Regions from separate parts of the Homo sapiens genome. Here all the other regions are linked to region 1. The links are contacts of gene promoters, found by promoter capture Hi-C in blood cells and fetal thymus (Javierre and others, 2016). All regions are on one chromosome and are shown on one strand. The core of a region is centred on a gene start or on the middle of the fragment in contact, and the rest is flanking DNA. Distances in the headings are between cores, read along the strand shown. Region 1 holds the start of CNKSR3 (CNKSR family member 3). Region 2 overlaps OPRM1 (opioid receptor mu 1). Region 3 overlaps SCAF8 (SR-related CTD associated factor 8).

What was found. Contacts are between HindIII fragments. The CHiCAGO score rates a contact against its expected background, and 5 or more counts as called.
Region 2: a contact is called between a fragment that was not itself captured here and the fragment with the promoter of CNKSR3 in region 1, in 1 of 17 cell types (non-activated CD4 T cells). The highest score is 5.3, in non-activated CD4 T cells.
Region 3: a fragment that was not itself captured here is called in contact with the fragment with the promoter of CNKSR3 in region 1 in 3 of 17 cell types (erythroblasts, M2 macrophages and megakaryocytes); the score reaches 6.8 in erythroblasts.

The regions. Positions count from the first base shown.
Region 1 is chr6:154,508,600-154,513,521 of GRCh38, reverse strand. It overlaps CNKSR3 (CNKSR family member 3), which reads left to right and starts at 2,837. Exons shown (of 13, transcript NM_173515.4): 1 at 2,837-3,459. The coding sequence starts at 3,408. It overlaps LOC101928868 (a long non-coding RNA gene), which reads right to left and starts at 2,731. Exons shown (of 2, transcript XR_001744422.2): 1 at 2,560-2,731. The HindIII fragment of the contact is 4,325 bases long and covers 1-4,244 here.
Region 2 is chr6:154,086,017-154,090,938 of GRCh38, reverse strand. OPRM1 (opioid receptor mu 1) reads right to left here. Exons shown (of 4, transcript NM_000914.5): 2 at 761-1,113. Among named protein-coding and RNA genes, the nearest start is that of OPRM1, 49 kb to the right of the region's middle. The HindIII fragment of the contact is 1,426 bases long and covers 2,289-3,714 here.
Region 3 is chr6:154,801,269-154,806,190 of GRCh38, reverse strand. SCAF8 (SR-related CTD associated factor 8) reads right to left here. Exons shown (of 20, transcript NM_014892.5): 7 at 4,044-4,220; 8 at 2,568-2,647; 9 at 705-822. Among named protein-coding and RNA genes, the nearest start is that of MIR1273C, 50 kb to the left of the region's middle. The HindIII fragment of the contact is 700 bases long and covers 2,251-2,950 here.

The DNA of each region.
Region 1 (4,922 bases), core at 1,588-4,087:
CAGAAGAAATCCACCTTTAGAAAGTCACATGGTGTTTTTGATCTAAAAGGCTACTCATCATTTCTGAATCCTCCTAGTGCTTAGTTTAGTGAGTACCTAATACGTATTTCATCAACTGAATAAATGACTTAAACATGCAAGAAGGGTCAAAGTCAGAAAAACGGAAGAGCTGGAAAGAAATCTAGAAGATCTGGGTTCTAGTATCTGTTCTACATATTAATTCAATTTTAAAAAGGCTTATTGAACTCCTTGTATGTGCGAGGAATTGTAGTAAACATTAAGACACAAATGAAGAGTTCTGATCTGGAAGATGGCATAGCTGCAGTTTGGTAATGTGCGTGAACATATGGTGTAATAGCTACAGATTTTAGCTAGCAGAGAAGAAAAGTTAGCAAATTTACAAATTATCCTTTTATATATACTTAATTTTTAAAGCCATTTACTTAAGATTCTGCCTTTATTAGCTTTGTATGCCATTAATAGCTTTGTATGTCCTCAAGTTTGCATTTCAGCTAGGAAGGCAGGCCTCCCTAAAACTTTCACGTGCTAACAGCTGTAATTAAGGTAGAAGGCTTTATTTAAATAGTAATTAGCTTCCAGAAGTTGAAGTGTAAACAGAATGCTAATTCATTTAGATAGTTAATTGGTCTTCCGGGTTAGAGATCTTAGCGTGGCCTTCCTCTTTAGCTATGCTGTATTTATGTACCAAGTATAGATAGTGTGTTGGCTCCGTGGGATGTTTTGCAAACTCTTGCTTGACTCGCAGAATTTTAGTGTTTTAGCTCTTCTGGTAAAGACTACTGCCAATGAATCTGAAGACGTGAAAACATCAAGTAAAATTCCACGGCAAAATCATTAATATTTGACCTTTCTTTTATAATTGTGGGGACCGTATGGCCCAGTTTATTCATGTTATTCCAATGTAATTCTTGATAGTTGCTTCTTTCATGCTCAAGAATATTTTGATTTGGAGGTAAGTTATGTGGTCACCCTAATCATAATCAGAAATCACACAACAGGCAGTGATTGCTGAAACAAAAGGTGTGCATCAGGTTGGTTACCCTTTCCAGTGAACCAGTGTCAAGGTCCTTCTCTCTGCTGACTGCTGTAAAGATGGTTAATGCTGGATGTCATTAAGTTTAAAGGTCTTTTTTTTTTTTTAAGGACAACTACTATATCAGGAATTTTGTCATTGCCTTTGCCAACTTGTGTGGTCTGCCAGTCACTTTCGCTAGATGAAGAAAAAGAATCACTATATTTGATAGTTGTGTGTCTCTGTGTTGCCCAGTCCTCTAGGGGAGTTGAATGGGAGGTGGGTCTGATGTTTTGCTTTTTAAAAATGTTTCTTTTGCTTGGATGCTCCAGCTCATCAGATGCTAGGCTGGCTGCTAGCTATTTTTCCACATGTGCGTCCAAACAGACCTGTGTAAGTAGCACATATCACACGAATTCAACAAATACTGAATGAATACAGTGGCTGGCACATAGGAAGCATTCCCGGATATTTACTGAATGAATAAATACCAACCTTGCCTTTGGTCCCGTGCTGGGTGCTACAAGTTAGGTGGTAGGAAGAAAGGGAGGAGAGAAAACTCTATATGAGATCAAGTAGGTTCTGCCCTCAAGGGGTTAATAGTCTCCAAGAGGAAGATGTAAATAAATAACCGTAATTGAAAGTAAGAATCATTCAGTGCCAAAAAGAGTGGGAGGAAGAGGTTGCTGGGCGGGGCGGGGCGGGGGTGGGGGGTTGGGGGGGGTGTTGGGGGGTGAGGGGAGGGGTGGTGGCGAGGGTGGCAGGGGTTGGGGGGGCGGTTAGGATGCAGGGAGAACTTGAAGGAGAGGCAGGCATTCAAATTAGATTTTCCCCCAGTTTAGCATTAACTCTGGCCCCAGTTGCAGTCCATGAATGTGGAAGGGCCCTCCCCTGCCAGGCGCTGAAATTGTGCACGAGCTATTTTTTTTTTCTTGGCTAACAGCTTTCCTCTCACGGTTAATGACTAATCCCAAGGAGCATTAGCTCACTCTGTAAATATGAAATTATAATATAGCAAAATATAACGCTAAAAGCCATCAATCTAATTTTAGTCGCAAAGTTGAAATTTCATAGCAATAGCATTAAAAGAGTTACATTGTTACGATTTCAGTCAACATATAAATGAAATAAAATTGTTCTGGCCTGGCGCGGTGGCTCAGGCCTGTAATCCTAGCACTTCGGGAGGCCGAGGCTGGCGGATCACCTGAGTTCAGGATTTCGAGACCAGTCTGGCCAACATGGTGAAACCCTGTCTCTACTAAAAATACAAAAATTAGCCGGGCGTAGTGGCAGACGCCTGTAATCCCAGCTACTCCGGAGGCTGAGGCGGGAGAATCGCTGGAACCTGGGAGGCAGAGGCTGCAGTGAGCTGAGATCGCGCCACTGCACTCCAGCCTGGGCGACAGAGCGAGGCTCCATCTAAAAAAAAAAATTGTTCTACTTTAAGAAACCTAAAATGACGGCTTAATGGCAGAGTAGTATTACGATATAAAGCATTTAAAATGAACAGAACATGCAGATCTTACTTTTTTTTTTCTTTTCTTTTTTTTTTAGTGTATTGTTGCTCACAGCGAGACAGAGTGTTCTGCTACCCACAGGGCCAGGGCCTCACACAAACCAGCGGGCTCTCCAGGGTGCGCGCGCGATCTACAACCCGCCCCTTGAAAAGGAAAGCGGGGCCCGGGACGCTGCGGGTGTGAGCCGGACCGGCTTAGAGAGGGAAAGTAACCCGAGTCCGCCGCTTCGGGCGGACCCGCCCCCTCCCACGAGTTTCCCTAGACCCTCGGCCCCGCCCTCTCTTTTATTCGGTTTGCAGCAACCGGAGCTGAAACTTTGCAACCCGAGCGCGCACGCTCTGCGCTCGGCCCTGCCAGGGCGGCACGGGAGGGCGGCGCAGGAGGTGGGACCTGCGCCGGGAAGGCTCCGGGACGCCAGCGCACGCGGAGCGGGGACCCCGGAGAGCCAGCAGGCGAGAAGACCGGCCGAGGGAGAGCCGATCGCGCCTCGAGAGATCCGAGGAAGTGGTCGCGGGCCGGGAGGCTCCCGTGCCGAGCCGAGGCCAGGGGTCTGGGGTCGCAGCCCGGCGTGCCTGCAGCTGCCGTCGCTCGGGAGCAGCAGCTGTGCCCGGGATCCCGGCGGCGGCGGGGGAAGGAGGAGCTGCAGCTGGACTGTGGCAGCTGGAGGGAGAGGGCCGGGCTCCCCTGGCGGAGCCGCGCTGGGACGACTGGCTGACCGCGGCCATGCAGTCTTGACGGAGTCGCTCGGGCGCAGGGGAGCAGCCGCGGGCGCGCCCTCCCGGGAAGGGGCACCGGAGCGCAGGCAGCAGCACTTTATCTGCGACTCTCCAGCCCAGCGAGAGGCGAAGCGGTTTACCATGGAACCCGTGACCAAGTGGAGCCCCAAACAAGTGGTGGACTGGACTAGAGGTGCGCGGGCCTTGGGGGGGTCCGGAGTCCTCCAGCCTCGGGGATGGGGCGGACGAGGAGCTGGGGAAGAGGGTACTTGGCCCTTCCTCCCGGCGAGAAGCGGTGAGGGCACAGCCCGGTGACAATGCAAACTTCTGCCGAGTGGCCTGTGCGCTCCTATCTCTCGTACCTGCTCCGAGCTCTTCCTTTCCAGGGTGCGGATTGTGGCAAGCCGAGGGGAGCCCTATCTTTAAACCAGGGAGTAGGGGTGGCCTTTCTGTGGCGGTTGAGGGCTGGGGATGCCGATCTCGGGACTCGGCACTCGGGCCGGGGGGCGCTCTCCCTGCCTGGCCCCGGTGCGGTGCCCGGCGACCCGGGGGCCCGAGTGCAGAGGCACAAGGTGCCTTTGTGTGGGTGACTCCCGCGGGACCTCGTCCATGCCGCCTGCCCAGAGCCGTCCGCAGGCGTGACAGGGCTGTCGGACAGGTAGAGGGAGACTCCGGCGGGTCCGCCGAGCCTGTCTGTTTTTGTTGGAGAAGGCGAGAGGGCCGCGCAAAAGCCAACACCATAGCATTTGCGCCAGGGAGAAACCTCGAGCCAGGACTCCCCGGGAGGCAGTGACTTTTGCTCCGGGAGGCGCCAGTATCCCCGGTGGCGCTGCATTTTCAGGCCACATGTAAGCACTGGGAAGGAGAAATATAATTGTTTGGAACCACTGTCTTGATTCATACAATATTTGGGATGAGGAAGGCAGTGGGGCTGGGGCGGTGGGGGGGTGGTGGGGGGAATGAGCAGAGGTAGAAGCTTGTCCTCCTAGCTGGCTCGCTTACTTTTCAATGTCTCCTACGATTTCGAGGGAAAGGTACTAGAGTTTACTCAACCCTTTTCTGTACTTTCAAGAGAACAAAGTCCACCAAGAACAATCTGTATTTTCATGGTTTCCCCCCACCCCCAACGACATCTCTGTTTCAAGTTACTATTTGTTTTTCTATCTGCTCTTCCAGGTGAGGAATGGTGTTCTTTCTCAGTAATAACTAGAATTGTGTAGCGCTTTACAGTTTGCTAAGAGCTCTCTCTGTTATTGTCCTTGGTCATCACAGTAAGCCTGTGAGGTAGGTAATACTGGTAAGACCAGGTCGTCTTTCAAACCGTCCCACCCATGGCTGCAGCATAATGAAAACTGATCACCGCTACATCTCATTTCTCACGCCTGTGACTTACACATAGACCACGTGGAATAGGATGTCCGAGGTGTGTGGGGTGTGTCAGTGGGTATGTCTGACCATTTCCTGCTCCTCTGGGAGAACTCCTTGAGAACGGGTTTGTCAAGTGAGCAGAATTTCCTGGACTCCTATATAAAATGAAGCTAAAAACAACACATGTTTCTGCCTTGGTGACTAGGTTTCCCTTGGTAAAGAGTAAGTGGCATTGCCAGTACTTGGTAGGAAGCATGAGCTTAAAAGCCATCCATGCCCACGCTAGCT
Region 2 (4,922 bases), core at 1,752-4,251, 420 kb after region 1:
ATTTAAAGGAAAAATTAGCAGCAACATTTAATTATGTCATAAGGTGTTAATACTGCCATTTTGCTCATTCATTTTTAGCCTTGACCAGAGCTAACTTAAGGCTATAAAGAAATTGTGGAAGAAACTCAGTTGTTTGTTACTTTTCAAAGAAAGTTTTACTTCTAATGTTTTTTGTTTTTTTCTAAATTTCCCATTTTGCAGTCCACTTCGATCACATTAAGCTTTCGTTCAGGGAACAAAAATGAACCTCTCAACATGAGCTAGATCCTCCATGAGGTCTATATTGATATAAAAAATGTAATAATTGTCCAAAGTCTCTAGGCGGCTCCAGGTAATGGATGTTTTCACTTCATTTTTTGATGGATTGTTCAATATTCTGATATTAGGTGTAGAAAGATACATTTGCCATGTAGTCAGCCACTTGATAATTTTAAACAAGCCTCAGTGTAATACTCTTTGGGTTTAAGCTCCAATTACTCTTGGGAGAGCTATGTACTAATTTACACACCATTTTTATGAAGTAAATACAGAGAAATCAGAAATAAATAGATTACATTCTCTTTAAAGGATTTAATAGGCCTAAAATTATGAGGAAAATTCCTATTTTTAAGTATTCAAAGGCTTTTTTTGCTAGGAAGAATAATTAAAATTACAATGTGACTAAGACAATGGGGCACTCCATAAATACTGCTTTGCTTATGACATCACCAACATATCAGGCTGTGAACCCTCCTTCCCTCAGGCTGGTAACATCACTCACCTTGCCTGTATTTTGTTGTAGCCATGAACATTACAGGAAGACCAATGGCTGAAGAGAGGATCCAGTTGCAGACATTGATAATTTTGGCATTTCGGGGAGTACGGAAATCTAAGGCCTTGACAGGGTGGCAGACTGCAATGTATCGATCAACACTCATGGTGCAGAGGGTGAATATGCTGGTGAACATGTTATAGTAATCTATGGAGATCACTATCTTGCAAAGGATGGTTCCAAATGGCCATGTTCCCATTAGGTAATTCACACTCTGGAAGGGCAGGGTACTGGTGGCTAAGGCATCTGCCAGAGCAAGGTTGAAAATGTAGATGTTGGTGGCAGTCTTCATCTTGGTGTATCTAGGAGATAAAGGAAGAAGAGTGAGAATCAGTAAAAGACACTAGTGTAAAATATAGGTAAGCTTCCAATAATAAATTTGCATGAATTAGTAGAAAGCTTTTTTGAGATTAGATATAGAATTGTTTTCCAGTATCAGCTTGGCTATTTACAATGATGTCAATGATGTACCTATTGGCTAAATAGCTGCAATAATAGCAACGATGCTGCTTTGTTGAGTTTCTTCCTTTTTTTTTTTTTTTGGATAGGATCTTGCCCTGTTACCCAGGCTGGAGTGTAATGGTATGAACAGAGCTCACTACAGCTTTAACCTCCTGGACTCAAGAGATCCTCTTGCCTCACCTCCTGAATAACTGGGATCCCAGGTGCATGCCACCATACCCTGTTAATTTTAAAAAACTTTTGTAGGGACAGGGTCTTGACATGTTGCTTAGGGTGGTCTTGAACTCTTGGGCTCAAGCAGTCCTCCCTCCTCGGCCTCCCAAAGTGTTTGTGTTACAGGCATGAGACACCACACGCAGTGAGGGTTTTAATTTTTTTTTTTGTAATGTGTCAGTCATTGTGATAGGTCTAATAGAAAGAGGGAGATTCCAGTCAAATAGTAGGGGCAGCGACTGGATAGTAATTCTAAATATAAAAGAGAAAATTTTAGCTATATAAATATAGTTAAAATTATCAAGAAGTATAATTGTGCAAGTGTCTATAGGTATGTACACAAACACATGCACATACAAACACACAGGCGATTATGGGGCACAGAGATGAGGCATCTCACAGAGCATAAGGCAAAGGGAATAGTAGGAGTAAGATGTGGAAGGCATCCTGGAAGTGCAAGTTTAATCTCAAAGCACAAGCAGGATGATTGAGTTAGACACTTGGTAGGAGCAGGTCATTCTAGACAGAGAGGTAACAGAGAGAACCCCAACAAAGATGTAGAGTTGGAATGGCCTGATGTGTGTGTCAAGCACATTCTACCAGGGAATGGCAAGGGATCTGACTGGGGAAGAAGAGAGGCCAGTACATGAAGAACTTGTATGCCATGGTAAGATTAGACTCTATCCAATCCATGATGAGGAACCCAAGTGTGTTTGCTTTGTTTTTATTTTTTAATGCTTTATTGAGGTGGAATTGACCTATAATAAATAACGCATAATTAAAGTATACAATTTGATAAGCTTTGATACGTGTGTACACCTGTGAAACCACCACCATAATTAAGATCAGAGATTGGCAAACTATGGTGTGTAGACCCAATTGGACCGTTGCCTGTTTTATAAATAAATACACCTATTTAAAAACCCATAAGTGTTTTGATGCTACAATGGCAAAGTTCAATAATTGCAACAGAGATCAGATGACATGCAAAGCCTAAGTTATTTACTATCTTGCACTTTACAGAAAAAAATGTCAACCTCTGATGAAGATAATGACATCAATTGCTCCCAAAAGTGTCTTTGTGTAGCTCTTTAATCTTTCCTGTTTGCCCCTCCCTGTCCTCATATCCAACCCTCACTATTCCTCAGGCAATTGCTGATCTTGGTTTGCTTTCTGTTCTTATAGATTAGTTTGCATTTCCTAGAAGATGCAAATAGAATCATTCAGTATGTACTCTTTTTTTGTGCTGCTTCTTTCACTCAGTGTCATTATTTTGAGATTCATCTATGTGGTTGCATATAACAAGAATTAATTCCTTGTTATTGACAAGTAGTATTACTTATGCATTCATCTGTTTTTTTTTTTAATCCATTCACCTATTAATGGGAACTGAGTTGCATACAACTTTTGGATGTTACAAATGAACTGTTACGAACATTCATGTGCAAGTCTTTATATAAACATATGCTTTTCTTCCTCCTGGGTAAGTATCTAGGAGTGTTATATGTTTTCAAGGCCTGCAGAAATTAGAAATATGATAGTAGAATATAAGCAGGTACACTTGCAATAATACATTATATCTGATGGCAGAAGTATACCTTGTAAACATTGGACATCATTTTTTTTTTAACATTCCACATATATTTACCTTAATTTAGTAATAGTACCTCAGTTTCACTCTGGGAACCACTCATTTCCCGTTCTCAGTCCAGGTGCTTTGGGATAGGCTGTATTACCAGTCCAGGGCGTGAAGACGTTTAGTGACCGGGGCCATGGTGAATGGCAAGGATGCTCTCATGTTCCAACCAGAGCCAGTGAGAGTTTATTTTGAGACTTATGGACAAAGAGTGTATTAGTTTTCCTGCAGGACCCACACCTGAGAAGACGCATGGTATGTAGTTGCTGGAGGAGCTTGTCTGAAAATGGACCTAATCCGGAGGATGTGGATTTGAGAGCGTGAGAGAGAACCCCACACCTGAAGCCAGGCCCTCCTTGGGCTTCTGATTTACACGGTGCCATCAATTCCTTTTAAATGTTAGCTTGTGTTTACTGTTTTTCCGTCACACGAGGTTGAGTCTAACTCATTCAGCCCAAGACAGCTGTTGGTTGGAGGCCCTTTGTTTAGGACTGAATTCAGTGTCCAGGAAAGTGTTTTGGTTTCAATAACATCAGGAAAGTGATTTCATAAATCTCCTCAGGGTCAATAGGACAGCTTTGTTACTGAAGCTTTAAAATTCTGATACCTGATCTGGTCTGCAATACTTGCAGAAGCTGCATTACTGCCAGAAAAGCTCCACATTTTCAGACTTGGGGGCTTTTTTTTGGACTTACTTTGGGAGTTTCACTTTCTTAATGGATTTTAAAGAAAAAGATAGAGCCATTTAACTTGAGGAGAGAAAATAATTTGCTTTTAGTTTGGACTTTAAATATGGCAAATATAAAAAGGATAATGTAGACAAATACTCCAAAGTACAAAAACCAACAAAAAAGCAAAATTAAAACTGTGGTTTTAAGATTTAGAATAATTGACCTTGGTGCTCAAGAAGTTGAAACATTTTTTATTTTTTTAATAAGAAGAAGTTTCTCCCCAAAAGAGAAAATAACTTTTGCTAGATTCACCGTTGGTTATAGACCTGCATGATCTAAAGACATGCTTCATTGCATTTGCCACTTTCCTACCCAGCAGACCTTACATTTCGTGGCTTATCTTTAATGGTGTTTTATGTTAAGTAATTGGTTTCTTTACAGTCAGTTTTCTGACTCATCATACTTCCAACCTTTCCTTCAGGCTTATTTTAGCACTAAGTATTTCCAATGTATGTTTATTTTAATTAAAAAAAATCATTTCCTTCTCCAGAGTGAGGTGTTTGTGGAAAAAAAAATTATGTCAGGGTTCAACATGGTGAAAGGAAACGTGGTTATGCATAGTTAATTAGCATGCTAGCCATTCCACAATGTGTATACATTTCAAAACATCATGTTGTATATGGTAAATATACATAATTTTATCATCAATTTACCAAAAAAAAGTGAATATTTATCTATAAAAATTCTTTCAACGGGCATTTTATAGGAATGATGCTGTTTAATTTTTCTCAATTTATTTAAAAAGTCTTCCTCTAAAGATAGCCAGCATTCTTACCCCAGTTACTCATGCTTTGGATCACAGCAACATATAAAAGGGGGCTCAACGATCTTCTAAATATGTGAAAGAAAATTATACAAAGCTAAAGGATTAAGAATTCCAATTGCCTCCAGCATATACCCAAAGGCTTTAATCTGAAGAGATGGTCTAATCAGAAAAGGAGTAATGTGGGCTGGGCCTGGTGGCTCAAGCCTATAATCCCAGCACTTTGGGAGGCTGAGGTGAATGGATCACTTGAGGGCAGGGGAAGGAGACCAGCCTGGTCAACCCTGTCTCTACTAAAATTAGAAA
Region 3 (4,922 bases), core at 1,351-3,850, 290 kb before region 1:
CTTAAAGGATCCTTACAACTCAAAAGGATGTTACATTTAGTTATCGATGTTTTAAAATTCTTAGCTATGCATAAAATAACCGCACATCTTGAGTCAGATAATATATAACACTAGCTGTACACTGCTGCATGAGATGTTTAATCTCACCAAGCTTCCACTTCCTCTGGGATAAAATGGGAGTCATAATGCCCATCGCCTGAGGGTTAAATGTATACAAGCCTACCACATACCTAATAAAGCTCCTGCTACATGCTAACAGCAAATACGTTTTAAAAATTAAAGATAGCAATCTACATGGCCATCATCATTGTCACCATTAACATAATCATCAACTTGCTTGATAGGGAACAGAGAGAAAAACACGTTTAGTTTTAAGTGGTAATTCTGAAACCCCCTCCATCCTGTTCTCTACTTCCAGTACACTGAAATTAATTTCTACAATGTGCATTCATAAGTTACCAGAACACAATTTGATTACAGAAAAAACCATAAAGGTCCTGAAAAAAATGGTCTTACTAATAAGAGTTGAAAAAATATCACCATAACAAACTTTAGAAAGAAATAAAGTAGCTGGTAAAAGCTAAATAGTTGAGAAAATATTCTATTAAGACCAATTAAAAAAAAAAAAAGCCAACCCACAAAAATGCCAATTTATAGAATATAAATAGTAATAACTCTAAAGACCACAAGATGGGGTTATAAACCTTTTGAGGCTGTTGCTGCTCCAAGAGCTGCTGTCTGAGATGTTCTAGGTTTTGCTGTTGTAGTTGTTCTGCTATCTGATGAAAAATGGAATTGTTCACAGATTCTGAAACGTGAGAACTAAAAGGAAAAACAGGTGGAAACATATTTTAAAACCCACTAAAGATACTATGAAAATAACTGAGTATTCAAAGAAAACAAAAAAGTCAATTCAATAAAACATATTCTACTGCATGTTTTCTTTTGCAATTTTAATACTTAAAGTAGAATACTTGAGAACATTAATTATTAAAAGAAAAATACATTCTTCAATTGTACATCAATAGATGGATAACGTGTCAGAGATGCTCTGCTGAAGATCTGATATTACCATCTCAGGCTGTTAAATACATATAAATTACTGCTTTTTCATTAGAGCATATTAAGAAAATCTCAATATTTATAAAAAGTTTAAACATTTAAACATTGTTACTTTAACTCCTTCTCTTACTATGAGATAGAAAAACAGTCTATCAATCAGTATGTGTGAAATCTACCATTGTAATTGACCATAAAATTTATAAAACTAATATTCTTCCTTTAGAAAATCATATACATTATTAGGTATGTTAACAGAGACAGATACTGTTTAAATAAGAAAAAATAATAGTTTAACTATATTCTTGGAAATTCACACCTGGAATACACCTGGGATTCTGGGTGCCACAAGGTAAGACATTAACAATAAAAAGGGCATCCCAAAAGAGCCAAACAGGATGGTGAGAAGTCTTGAAACAGTTGGAAAAAAGTGTACTTCATCTGAAGCAAATAAACCTAAGGGGAAGAATGATACCTGTCTTCAAATAATGAAAAGCTACATCTCTAAAGATAGCGGAGTAAATTTGATTCCTTGCTTCAGAAAGCAAAACATGGGTCAGTGTATATTAATAGAAAATAAAGGAAACAGGATTCAGCTCAACAAAAGAACACACAATAATAACAATTAGTTAACTTCTCATTACAGAAAGCATTAAAATACTGGATAAATAAACTGTATCATCAGGACTGTTAAAGGAGATTCTTACATTGTTTAGGACACTGATCAACATGATTTCAAATGCTGCTTGCAAGTTTGCAATTCATAATCTAAAATACTAGTTTTTAAATTTTGTCAAGGGGAATCATTTTACTAAAATGATACATTTGTATCTAACATATTCTAAAATTATGTTTTTGTTTATTACCCCAATATATACAACTAATAACTTCTGTTTGAAACAAGAGACCCACAGACTTTCACCATTCATCCTTCTTCCATTCTCCCAACTTCTACCCCTGCCTCCTCCAACATCTTCCCCCTACTAGTCCATTCACATACCCTCACAGAACCTTGGGCACTGCAGAATTGTTTAGGGAAAAAAAAGTAACTGATTTAATAAAAACATACAACACATTTCTTTACAAAAAAAAAAATCCTCATAACTCCAATCCTTAATTCTCATTAGGTTGATGTGTTTCCACAATTTCATATGCTTTCTAGAAGTGGCCTCTAAGCACTAGAAGCAAGCTTCATTCCTAGTATTCCAACCACTCTTACAATTAAGTTAAATAACTTAAAGCCTAATATGGAAAATATTACAACCAGATTTACCAATATGTATCAATGTTCTTATAGGTAACTTTGATACAGTCTATTTGCAAAGATCTGAGAAAAGACTCAAAATAATACAAAGAGACAACAAGACATATCTCTACCACCTTTGTATAATGTTAGAGGTTCAACAGCTTGAAATAATAATCCCAACTTACTAAGTATACTTAGTAATTCAGATGGCAACATCCCACTAAATATAAAAAAACTATGGCTATAAAGAAAAAATTCTTACAGTTGTGAAGCTGGAATTTCCTTTTTGGGTTCTTCACTATGCTCAGAGTCTTCCCCAAAATCAAACCTATCCATCAACTTCTGGGGGAAAGAAGGAGAAACAGACATATTAAAAAGTGCTTCACACAAATACAAGTTACAAATGCTATTTTAAATGTCAATGGCATTCCGTTATATCTATCATTTAATGTGTAAATAAACATTTTGTATCACTTTATACTATTATAAAGTGTTTTGAGTAGATCTTTTCTTTAAAGCATTTTGATATGTATTATCTTACATAACAAAACAAATTATGATAGAGGCAGGATAAACACTAATACTCAAATTTTACAGAAGACTAAGAATTAAAATAATTAGGTGGTTTTTCCATGGTAATAAGCTTGATAAAACATCTAGGGCCATATTCAATGGATCTATTCCTAATATGGTTCTCATCTTAGAATGCTGTTATTCTTCTGAATGCTCAATTTAAAGGCTTTTTATGTGGTCTAGCTATTTAGTGTTAGACTATATTAGACTTAGAAGCTGCTGGCCAAAACAGTCTAAGTAATAATCCAATAAATCAGTATCTACTTTCCTATAAAAAGTACAAATTTTAAAAATATGAACACCACTTCCAAGTAGTATGATATTCCCATAATTAATAAGCATACTAAGAATATCACACACTAAATTGTACATGAAAGATTTTAAGTTTTAGAAACACTTTAATTATTAATAATTTAGGCATCAACTTATTATAGTTACAGTATAGTGACTAGTTGTAGAGAAGTTTCCTTTAAACATTTTACATATTGATTAAAGAATTTTAATTTTTGCAGGTCCAAATTACAGAACCCAGAGCATCACAGTAAAATGTGGCACCCATGAAAGAAATCAGACAAGCTCAGAAAGTAATCACTTGCCTCAGTGGTGAATACAAGATTTTACTGACTAGTTATTTTTAGTCAAATGAAAATATTTTAAATGTTTCAAAAATGTTTCAAAAAAAATTTTTTTTTTTTGAGTCAAGAGTCTTTCTCTGTCACCCAGGCTGGAGAACAGTTGCTCAATCTTGGCTCACTGCAACCTCTACCTCCCAGGTACAAGCAATTCTCCTTCCTCAGCCTCCCCAGTAGCTGGGATTACAGGCACGCATCATCTGGCTAATTTTTGTATTTTTAATAGAGATGGGGTTTCACCATGTTTGCCAGGCTGGTCTCAAACTCCTGGCCTTAAGTGATCTGCCTGCCTTGCGCTCCCCCAAAGTGCTGGGGATTATAGGTGTGAGCCACTGTGCCTGGCCTAGGAAAAATTTTTTTAATTACTTAATTTTTTTCAGAAGTTTGAACCTTTTGTAAAATTCAGACTGTCTTATACAGTGTACAGGAGATACTGAAAGTCTACAATAAAATTTATTTATAGAATTAAAATCCATGATAGTATATAATATTTAATAATTCATATAGACTTGATCCGATATTTTAATTTCTACCTTGTTAAAGGAGACTCCCTGTTCTAAGGGAGTAAGAGTGTTGGCAGCTGCAGCTGCAGCTGTAAGTTGTGCCGTAAGAGCTTGCAACTGAACAACAAGACCAGCATCTAGGGCCTGCAGAATGGAAGGCTGGGGCTTCTGTTGTTGTATCTGTAAGGTTTGTATTAATTGTTGAAGCTGGAGAGAAAAAAATATATATTACAAAACAGGTGTTGGGTTTTTTCTGTAAGAGTGGCCACCTAAAACTTTTAGTCAGTAAAATTAATCATTCCACACTCTCTTTGAAAAAAATACACACTATTAATAAGTTAATTTTTTGAAGTTTTTCTGTGTACCTTATATAACACAGTCCTTAATAAGTTTGTCTTACTTCTGGAAAGTCAGCGAACTTTAAACAAAATAAAGTGATCTGTGACAACCAGATAAAGCGCTCATCACAAGCTGACACCTTTTTCACTAAATTTCTCTACCTTGTTCAATTAACTCTTTAAACTCAGTAAAAGGACGAGTACTGAAAATAGCAGCAGCTTTTGCTGTTATTCAGAATTACCATCTGAGCACGTACTTCCTGAAAGTTGGAGAGTCATTAAGAAATCTGTTTCTCAGAGTAGAGTCTGGCAACTAGTTATTAATAATAGTGTCATCTAGAGTTGAAGGCAACTCTTGTTCCCACCATGTACCCACCCCTGTTAAAAAACAGACACAACAGTGAGATCTTTAAGAGATTCTATAAATAAGAAAACCCTATATACATTCCAGAAATAAATGATAATCAATCTGGTTATAAGCCTGAGTTAAATCCAAAAATTATTAGTTTAAAAGAGAAAAATAAAGACAGCAAAGCTACTGATAACCAAGACAACTGTACTCTTGAAGTTC